Regions from separate parts of the Homo sapiens genome. Here region 2 is linked to region 1. Evidence: promoter capture Hi-C in 16 types of primary human blood cells and fetal thymus (Javierre and others, 2016). All regions are on one chromosome and are shown on one strand. The core of a region is centred on a gene start or on the middle of the fragment in contact, and the rest is flanking DNA. Distances in the headings are between cores, read along the strand shown. Region 1 holds the start of NEGR1 (neuronal growth regulator 1). Region 2 overlaps NEGR1 (neuronal growth regulator 1).

The links. The method cuts DNA at HindIII sites, captures the fragments that hold promoters and counts their contacts. A CHiCAGO score of 5 or more calls a contact.
Region 2: a contact is called between a fragment that was not itself captured here and the fragment with the promoter of NEGR1 in region 1, in 1 of 17 cell types (fetal thymus). The highest score is 6.0, in fetal thymus.

Annotation. Positions count from the first base shown.
Region 1 is chr1:72,280,189-72,285,557 of GRCh38, reverse strand. It overlaps NEGR1 (neuronal growth regulator 1), which reads left to right and starts at 3,019. Exons shown (of 7, transcript NM_173808.3): 1 at 3,019-3,239. The coding sequence starts at 3,064. It overlaps LOC105378797 (a long non-coding RNA gene), which reads right to left and starts at 2,624. Exons shown (of 6, transcript XR_947506.3): 1 at 2,153-2,624. RefSeq lists an enhancer at 2-1,201 and silencers at 2,583-2,672, 2,773-2,832. The HindIII fragment of the contact is 3,164 bases long and covers 1,391-4,554 here.
Region 2 is chr1:71,582,685-71,588,033 of GRCh38, reverse strand. The region is part of intron 6 of NEGR1 (neuronal growth regulator 1); the gene reads left to right. Among named protein-coding and RNA genes, the nearest start is that of NEGR1-IT1, 250 kb to the left of the region's middle. The HindIII fragment of the contact is 2,586 bases long and covers 2,496-5,081 here.

The sequences.
Region 1 (5,369 bases), core at 1,770-4,269:
TAAATAATAGTGACGTACCTGTAAATACTTTCCCCCATAATCCAGACATCTATACACTAAGTTCAGTCATTGCTTTCTTTAGATGGGTTCTCCAAGAGTTAAGTGTGATCTGTGAATGGTAGTTGAGATAAAAAACTAGAAATAAGGAAAGGAAACTGTCTTTAAAAGAAGTGGCTCCAGTTTCCGTTTACAAGCCTGAAGGGTTGTTGTACATATTAAAACTGCAGCATAGCTCCATCCCTGGTCAAAGAAAACCCTCCTCCTACCACCCCCAACCCACCCCCGTGGACACTGAAGATGTCAGATCTCTGGGAAACAGCAGTCAGAAAAGGATGCTTTTCATAGCTTGTACTAGAAAACACTGGCACCCCCATCCCTGCTTAAAATAGCACTAAACTGAGTCACAATGCAGGAAGCTATACCTTCTGTGTCTCTTCAATAGAATCTAGCTCGTTTCTACTGAAATGCTAAATAATACTGCATAGCTTTGCCCATGTATGTGACATGTCAAGTCTTCTAATCCCCCGTTTGCCCTAGATAATTTTACGCTTTATCCATCAGCGTGCCACGCAAGATAGAAAAATGCAGTTAACAAGATGACAGTGTTACTTAGGTATTTGGCATCGATATTAGTGAGAGTCTGTCATTTCACAATTATTTCCCTAGCATACCAGACGGTAAAGAAAATGTTTTCATTCATCCGCAAATGACTAACATTTTATTGATGTTTCAAAATGCGGTTGAAACTATTGCACTCTCAGTTTCCGAGTCGGTTTTGAGAGTTAAGGCAGAATACTAACATCAGTGACTCCTGACGCAAATGTCTCCGTTAGCTGCCCAGCCTTGGAGTGCCAGTTCAGCAGGGAGGTGTTGCTAGTTAAGGATTCGTCTGTAAGCCAGTCTGGGTGGTCACAGGTGATGGGAACCCTTCCCTTTCCCCATATATCCCCGTGCATGGCGATAAAAATCACTCTGAACACTGCTACCACCAAGCAAAACGACTCCCTGCCTGCCTCGTAAAGAGCTCAGTCTGCGGAGGCAGCCGGATGCTGACCCCTGCAGAGAGTCTTGCTTCGGTGCGCTTTGCCAAATGACCCTGCTAGCATTATGGAAAACGAGTTACGGACGTGTGAGGTTTTGCTTCATTTCCTCCAAAAGAAGAACTGGGATCTGGCAAAGAATATCTTCTTCAAACACTGCTAAAGGGGGATGGGGTGGAGGAAGGGAAAAAGTGTGTGAGGGGGAGGGAGCTTATTTTTTAATTACTTATTTTCCATTTTCACTTCCCCGCTCTGCTTCCCAAACTCCTCGCTGAACAAGATTGATTGGTGTAACTGCTAACGACTCAGCCTCGGTTCTCGCATTGATTTGCAAATGGCCCGGAAAAGCTTAAGGATCTTGAATCTGGAAATGAGTTCAAGAAGGAAAGAAGAAAAAAGAGTAGGGGTGGCCCCACGCCTAGTATCTCCTTCTGCCTTGGGCCAGGGCAGGGCTGAAAACAGCCCGGCGAGCTGCGGAGGGGCTGCTGCGTGGGGAAGCGGAGGTTACCGCTCTGCACCGCGGAGGAGCAAGCCTGTTAACGCGGTGTGGAGGCTGTTAAGAAATACAACCCTGCGACTCGTTAAACCCCTTAACTCTGCCCTGCCTTGACTCGGATGCGCCGATTATTCGGCCTGATAGGCTCAAATGGGTTAAACTGCCTCTTACATAACTGGACCGCCTGGGCTCTACACAATTAAAACACTTGATTGCAGTCTTTTCCCGACTCTACATCCCAGCATGACCCGCCCCGTCCCTCCCAGCGCGCCTGCGTGCCGCGCGTGCACAGGCCCCCGCGCGCACGACACGCTCTCTATCACACACACACTCCATGTTGACCATAAACAATCCCCTACTCACACACACAACTTAGTGTCAACACCCACAGATAAAAGAGGGGCGTCCTGCAATCCATACGGGCCGACCGCCACAAACACGCAAGCTGCTCTGCCGCAAGGCCTTGCACCTCCTCGTGTCCCCGCAAAAAAGCAGCGCCCCGCCACCGTCCCTACCTATTCCCGAGAAAACGCAGAGAGAACTAGTTGGCTGCTCGCTAACTGCAGCGTAGCCACCCAGGCAAGATTAGAAGAAAATAAACAAAAAAACAACTCACAGTCGCCGGCGTCATGATGGCGCCGACCACAACTTGGAGGACTTCAAACTTACGGTGCCTCGAGAGGTAAAACGCACCGGTGAGGGAAGGCAAAGCGCCCCTCAGCTCTCTTCACCCCAGCCCTGACACGGAGACTTTTCTAGCAAAGAATCCCTCTAGCGCTTACGACAGTAAGGAGAGCCTTCATTCTAAGGTGCCTCTCTTTCCCCCTTAGTTTGCATAATTGTGATACAGTTCCTCCTATTTTTTTTTTCGTTGTCTTGCTTTTCTTTTTTTTTTCTTGCTATCTTTTTTCTTTCTTTTTTTATTATTTTTTTAATCCCCCTCCCTTCTCCATCCCCAGTCCCCTGGCGGGGTTGCTAAGGAAACGGCCGCTTGGCAACGCGCGCGAGCCCGGGAGCCGGCGGCCGGCGCAGCGCTCCGCGCTGCTTCTGCTGCTGCTGTTGCTGTTGCTGCTGCTGCTGCTGGGATTGCAGCCGCCGCCGCCGCCGCTCGCCCTGCCTCCTCCCCCGCCGCCGCGCCTCCTCCCTCACTCGCCGGCGCGCTCGCCTCCTCGCTAGATGGTGTGCGAGCCGCCCGAGAATTAGACACACTCCGGACGCGGCCAAAAGCAACCGAGAGGAGGTGTAGTGTGGTGCCAGGGGGAGGGAGGGGAGGGAGGGAGGGAAAGCGAAGAGGAGGAGGGGAGGCAAAAACACCGAAAAACAAAAAGAGAGAAACAACACCCAACAACTGGGGTGGGGGGAAGAAAGAAAGAAAAGAAACCCACCCACCCACCAAAAAAAAAAAAAAAAAAAAAAAAAAAAAAAAATCCTGTGGCGCGCCGCCTGGTTCCCGGGAAGACTCGCCAGCACCAGGGGGTGGGGGAGTGCGAGCTGAAAGCTGCTGGAGAGTGAGCAGCCCTAGCAGGGATGGACATGATGCTGTTGGTGCAGGGTGCTTGTTGCTCGAACCAGTGGCTGGCGGCGGTGCTCCTCAGCCTGTGCTGCCTGCTACCCTCCTGCCTCCCGGCTGGACAGAGTGTGGACTTCCCCTGGGCGGCCGTGGACAACATGATGGTCAGAAAAGGGGACACGGCGGTGCTTAGGTAGGAAGAACGGCGTGCTTTTCGTACTTGTTTCGGTCTATCTTTCTGTCTCTCTTTGAACCCTCTTTGCCTTCTTTATAACACAAGCAATAATGCTGGTGGTGCTCATCATGGAAAGACCACATCCCAAGAATTCCAGGTGCAGATTCTTCCCGGAGCCCCGGCCCGTTTATGCTGGGGCAGGTAGCAAGCTGGACTCGTGATGCTAAAGCACTTTGCCGGAACGCCAAGTAGCCTGGGGATGAGTGAACTGTCAGGTTTAGAAGGAGGGGCAGGTGCCACTTTGAAACTCAATGCACAAGGTCTCTGTTTTACTGTCATGGGGTACTCCTGGAGAGTCTGACAAGTTTATCAGGTTTGTTTCTATTTTACTCCAGCATAAGCGACTCTTTCAAACTGCTGTTCTCTGCTCCCATTTATTTTCCCTCTCACTTGGACACTTAGGCTCGATTTCTTGCTCTTTATCTTTCTTTCCTTTTACCGCTTTCTGTTTTCTTTCTTTTCTCCTTCCTCATTCTCTTATACCATTTTCCCCACCTCCTTGTAACTCTTTTTCCCTCCAATATCTCTTTTCATACCTTTTCTATTTTCTGTTTTTTCCCTCCTTTTTAAAATTTCTTCTCATATTTTCTCATTTTTATCTCCACGACTCTAATTTCTGTTCCTCACATTTAATCCCCTTTCCTCCTCTCTTTTACCCTTTTTTCTTTTTGTCTATTTTTTTTATTCCTCCTTAATGTCCCTATCCTGTGCCCTGTCTTCCCTCTTTTGACTCCCATTTCTCATCCCTCTCCCCATACCGTTTCCCACCCCTGTGGCACACACAGGCATGGTCACTGTTCCCCTCCAGTACCATTTACTCACCCTCATAAATCTTATTTCCATAAACATACTAACTCACATACTCTCACATCCTCACATGCACTGGCACTTCCATGCTGTAAGAACCACTTCCACATTCAGATTGTCTCTCACTGTTTTTAAAAGGCATACTCTCCTTCTCTGTTCCACATTGTCACTCACACATGTGTACACACTGCCTGTCTCACTCGCTGCTCTCACTCTGTCTCTGCTTCTCTCTTTTTCTCTTTCTGTGTCTTTCTATCCCCTTTTTATTCCTACCTTCCTCCCTCCATCAGTCTTCACTTTTACTTATTTTTCTCATTTTCCCTTCTTTCCTCTGAGCTTGAGCTCTGAGGTGGTTTGTCATTAATAAACATCCATACCCTGATTTTACCCCTAAGCAACACTGCAGAGTGGGAGTCTGGGAATATTTTATTTCCTATGAAAATATAAATGGATGATCAGCAAAGCTTAGATCTAAACAAAGCTAAACGCCCTATTCCTTCATTTCTTTCCCATCACCCTCCCTTCTCCCCCTGCCACCCCACCTCACATTTCCCTGAAAGATCTTCTTTTTCTCCACTGGGTGGTAGTTGGCTTGTAAGTCTGGCTTGCACAACATCAGTGTACATGACATGTCTAAGGTGAAAGAGAGTGGGAAATGTTTCTGTTTGAAACATGCAACATATTTAAATTTAATGATGTGGGTGTGGTATATGACTTACACCTTTTGGAACATGCCTATGAGTTCAAATTTGGAATACTATCGTATTTTTTAATATACACTAATACATATGTTTTTAATAATTTCTGTTTTGAATAACAAATGCCACTATATACAAAAGTAACTAATATCTTTGATATTACACAGTAAAAAAAAACTTTTCATTGTTGGTAACAGTGATAAATTCTTTGTCACAGAGAGGATATAAATTAAGCCTGTATTTTCTCTTTATGTTAAGTTTGTTTTAGAAGTTTGAACAACAGTGGTAAGGGCAAGACACTATCTTCAGAGATTGCAAACACATATCATGGGAGCTGCAATATGTATTTTTGTAGCAAGCAACATATTGCTTATTTGTAGTGAGCATTACCATTTCCACCCTAAAGGGTTTAGGAGACTGCTTTTCTTTCAATAATGTATCCTGGCATTTGGTTTCCCAAACAAACAACAATTTAATAAATACTATGGTTAGTGAAGATAGCTGGACCCACATTCTGCTTCCAGGAGACCCATGTTTAGTTCACTCATTGCTTCCAACAGTGGAGCTTCCCTAATATGTGGGG
Region 2 (5,349 bases), core at 2,539-5,038, 700 kb after region 1:
AAGTACAAATATTTATTATAAGACACGTATTCAAAGACTTGCCATCTAAAGGGAAATAGAATTAATTAAGATGGAAGAAAGCTGCATAAGCAAAGTGCTTAGAATTTACACAGCCTTAGTTTAATACAACCCTCTCCTGAGACCTAATATATGGAAATATTTGGTACAAATTGAGTCTCACTATTGATGAAGACTCATTGCTTAGAGTCCCAAAATAGGTAATGATAATATTGCTATGATGTGTGGATGCTAAACTCCCATCTCAGGTGTACCTAAAAATATAGTGTCAAATCCTTTACTGTAGTATAGGTTCTACAAGTCCTAATGATGCTATAGGGATATCTGTGTGTGTGTGTGTGTGTGTGTGTGCATGTGTGTGTGTGTGTGTACTCGTGTATGCATTTATTCAAAGTAACAAAGCATTTGTCTCAGAAATATTACACATAACACATTCAAAGGACCGATCAAAACTGTCTTTTCCCTGCCTTAGCAGCCTTGTGGAGACAATAATGAAGTCCCAATTTTAAATGCTTTATGCAGTCAGGGCTTTTTAACTTTCTGGAATGTCTCCTTTCATATCAGAGAAAATTTCTTCCCAGCCTGTTTAATGTGATGGGCTTCTTTTCTTTTCAGATAAAAAAGAAGTCAGTAGCTAGTATCCAAAAGGAAATGGAAGAGTCTACTGGAGAAAGTAAGAGAGAGTAATGTAACTGTTTTTCCCTGGTTAGATTCAACCGATGCAAGCGAACAGTACCTTTCAACTGATTTGTTGAATATGAAACTAGCTGTGTCCTTGCAAGTAATATTTCAGCTCTCTGCTTGCTTCAGATGTTCCCACATGCCAGTAAGCAACTGTATGGGCTCTGTTACTTTTACCTATTATAATGAACCCTGAAAGGTGATACCACAGATGTGAATGACTCCCATTTTAGATAGAAATTTATCTCTCCTCTTGCAACTTAAAGGAGATGGGGTTTTCATTTTGGTTGAAAGAGGCAGTAATAAATTTAGACTTGGTGATTATTGAAGACAGAGTGCTGTGTGAGACAACCTGCTTTATCCTCGCAGCTTTGAGATGTTAATGAGAAGGCTTTCCTTGGTGCTCTGGTAATAAATATTTGACAAAAATTAGGTTTGCAGTTGTAGGCAGAATTTGATCCAGCTACACAGGCCTATCAAGTCGTTCTCTACCAAACAAAAATAACACACACAGACATAATCATCACATAAGTCATGAAAGTATACAAATTTGCTGAAGTGTAGTATGAGTAAAGCAAGAGAATATTTTACCTCTTCAATCTCATACCTGGAACATGTATGTATTTTCAAGAAGATAGACACCAAATGGTCATTTAGTGGCATATGGGAGAGACGATAACCAGCAGGCTGAAGCAGTCAGAGTGACTGTTGAAGTTTATGGTGCTCCAGGTCACCAAATTGCCTCTAGTGAAAACCACATATCAGTTAGCGGAGCTTTAGTTACGTTTGTCAATTGACAGAAATTGGAGCTAGAAGATGTCTCAGATTTTACATAGTCAATTCTTCCAACTTTCTTAAGCAATGAAACCCTTTATTCCTCCAAATAAAACCTATGCAAACTCTTAATGTATAACAAAGATAAAACTGGAGTTAGTTTGGTTAAGTTGGAGACAAATCTTATTTTCCTACCCATCACATTACATAGCGGCCTTGAAGCCTCTCAAGGTGTCATACAGTTCCAAATAATTTGTTTTGAAAACTTCTTGTCTAAACCAGTTTTTTCACTTTATAGGTGAGGAAACTGAAACCCAAATAGGATGAGTCAGAGACCAAAGTCAAGCAACATAACTAGGGCTAGAATTTCGTTTTTACTACCCTTGTTCCAGTGCTTTTCCCACTACACAGGTGGAACACCAAAAGCTTTGAATCGAGCAGATCCAAGTTAAAACTATAATCCTTCATGAAGGATTGTAGATACTTTAGTCACCTGACCTATAAAATAGGGGAAAATAAATTATTTTTATAGGATTATTGTGAAGATTAAATGAGAGGACATGCAAAATGGCCAATACACTACTAGTCTAAAACAAGTGCCTATTAAATGCTGGTTTCCTCTTCTGTCCTTCTCATGTATAATTCAAATGTTGAAGGGTAAACACAGGCAAGCACAGATCTATATAACCTGAATAACTGTGTAACTTTATTTCACTGGATAGACAAATTAGCAGCACTGGTCCTTTGATTCATTTGTTAATGCACTATGTATATCATTATGATATTGTCCTTTTTATTACAATTATTAATTAAATCAGCCATGCACATAAGCATTCACTTGTAATGAGTAAAAAAAAAAAAAAAAAAAAAAAGATGGAGAGGTTGTACAAGATTAATTACTCTACTGATGTGTTTCTCCCAGATTGAGGCAATTTGACAGTGGCATCTTCAAGCTACTGGTACAGCACATACATTTCCCACAGCTGACAAAGGGTCAGTAAATTTGGAAGGGAAAGGAAGCTTTGGTATTTGGTGTTGTCATTGATCAGCCTTGAAATATGGCTTGCTTATGAGGATTAGGTACCAAAAACACATAGAAAAATAAATTAGAGTTTCCAATTTAATCACAAAATTTTACTAGAAGCCCTACCCTTGGAGTCAAACTGGCCTTAAATTGGAGAGCTCCATAGCAATTTACTGCCTGGCCTCAGCATACCAATTTATAATATGAGGGGACTAGACTAACTAGTCTCCATGTTACCTTTCAGCTGTAATGTTTTCAGATCCTAAGAAATCTATGCATGTTTAAAAGATAGTATGTATTGATTGATTGTTATTTTTTAAAGTTAAACTTACTCCTTAACAAAGTAGAAGTGCTGCCAATATTTTTACCTTCTGTATATTTTTGTTATTGAACTCAAAATTATTTTTATTCGACAAAAAAATGCATCTTAATGTGCTTGTCTCTGTAGTGAGTTTCCATAAAACTTAGCTCAAGAGCACTGCTGGCCTAATCATTTTGTCATCTCTACACAGAATTTTACTCTCCAGAGAAATTTCCTTTATGTTCACAGTTGCAACAACCTTGGCCAGTAACCTATGAAAAAGGCACTAGAATAGACATTCTTGCTTGCTATTTTATTTCACACAGCTCTAATCCTATAACTAATTAGGCCAAAATGTGACTTGAGTATATGGCGTTGTGACTATTAGGACTTTGTAAAAATGAAAACATGCCAACATTTCCAGTCAAAAGAAAACAGATTAACAGAGTCTTTCTTCAGTATGACTTTCCTGATCTTTTCTCTTACAAAGCCTTTTGGAGGTCCTGTGAGATATTTCTTTCCCAGCACTTCTGAGAAGTTTCTTGGAGCATACTTATCAAGCGTGCACTGTGTTCCCTGTAATTTTGACTCCATCTAAAGTGGGATCCAATGGTTTGAGCACGTAATAAGGTGGCAAAGTCTGGGCCACTGTATCATCTTCGCTTCTGTGCTGTGATTTCTTTCTCTGAAAATGGAAATGTGACCCCTAATAAAAGATCCAGGAATACGTGTGAACAAAATGATTATTATGAAGGTCTGAGTATCATTATGATTAAACTTCCTATTTCTCTTTAGTCAGAGTGAAACATAGTTACTAGGGTACTCCACTAAACGAAAAAGTAAATTGAAATTGGCTCTTTTTTTGGCCATTCTGATGTTCCAGATAAAGGTAAAAAGAGGAGGAATTAACTGTGAAAGCAATAATATTTCAGTGGGCCACTCTTTCTCTAAAGCACTCTAAATTCAGTTTTAGAATCCATAAAACTGCTAGGGAAAAGACTGAAAATGGCATGTCCTCATTGAATGTGTCTATTCAGTGTGGACAGGGTTTCCTTTCTTTATAAATGTAATTCAATTGGGATTTCTCTGCAGAGATACAAATTAACTATCCACCCAGTATATAGTTAGACAAGATTTGAATAAACCAAGCCAGACTTGCTTGCATGGAAATGTTATTTCACCTATGCTCTGGCCAGGCATTTATAGTAGGTTGGATTTTCCGAATTTTAGCCTATTTTTAAGCAACACTTCTCTTTCAACAGTTTTAAAGAAATGAAGCAACTTCAGTTTCCTAGCTCTCAAATGTGTTTTTTAGATAGTTGCATAATCTTCGGTTCCTTTCTTTGAGTCAATCCAATTAGTGCATATGTGGAGCTGCTTAATTAGTGAGGCAGATCATAATTCTTGCTGAAGAACCATTAAAGTCACTAATCAGTCCACTTAGAATGAATTCCAAGTTTTCTAAAACACTTCCTAAGACAAGAGTAACAACATATATGTTTTCCTAAAACGGGCAGAATAATAGTATTTGCTCTAAGAATTAGTGACCATAACTATAGGGAAATTTGTATTTTCTCAAAAAAATTATAACTCCTTGGGAGCACTTAGTTTATGATATGCATACAAACTGTAGATAATAACTATAATCAAACTGACTAACATTAACTAAGTAAACACATTTTTTAGGAAGACTTGCATAAGTGATAGATGCACATCAACTCTGCAGGCTTGACTCTGCTGGAAAAGGATAAATTGAAAGGGTTTATTTCTCTCAGGCTAGCATGTGCCTGTTGGAGGCCATATTTGACATCCTTTCTTACACCCATTTTGCTTCATTCTGCAGAACCACCTGTATTTCTCTAACATTCTTCCTGCCAGCAACACCTGAAAGAATGAGCCTCACATGCTAAAATAATCTTAGGCTGCCACATATCACCATCATGATAAATCTTCCATTTATTATTTTCGTTTCCTTGTTACCATCCTCCTTAATTCTTTTCCCTGTCTTATTGTTGTGATAGTCATATATTTTTTAAAGTTTTTTTTACGTTACTGACTCACATTAGTGATAGGCTCTCACCTATTTATTTATTTATTTATTTATTTATTTATTTTTACTTTCTGTATCCCTTCCTCTTATTTTCTTCCTCTTATTTCTCCTCAACTCCAGGACTTAATCATCACCAAAAGAGACAGATAGATGCTTCTCTAACCAGGAGTATAGATTCAGAACGGAACCAAACAGCCTCTGAATAGGGAAGCCCAAAATTGCTTTTGAAAGCTTCATCACTGAAAATGTAATCAAACTTAGCTTACCCAAAATTGATTTAAGTTGCAGCCTAAGGGCCAACCTTTGACCAGGGCAGCGTTCACACTTGCATTGATTCTGCCTGCAATTGAATTACTCAGGCAATTCTGTGCGCTTTCAGCTTTAGCCCTGGAGTGCAAATGGCCAATTTGGGAGGCAACTTGCTTGTGCTTGAAATTTGCAGAAAGATTTTCTCATACATTTCTGGGGAAAAGCAGGATTACTTTTTTAAAATATTATCTT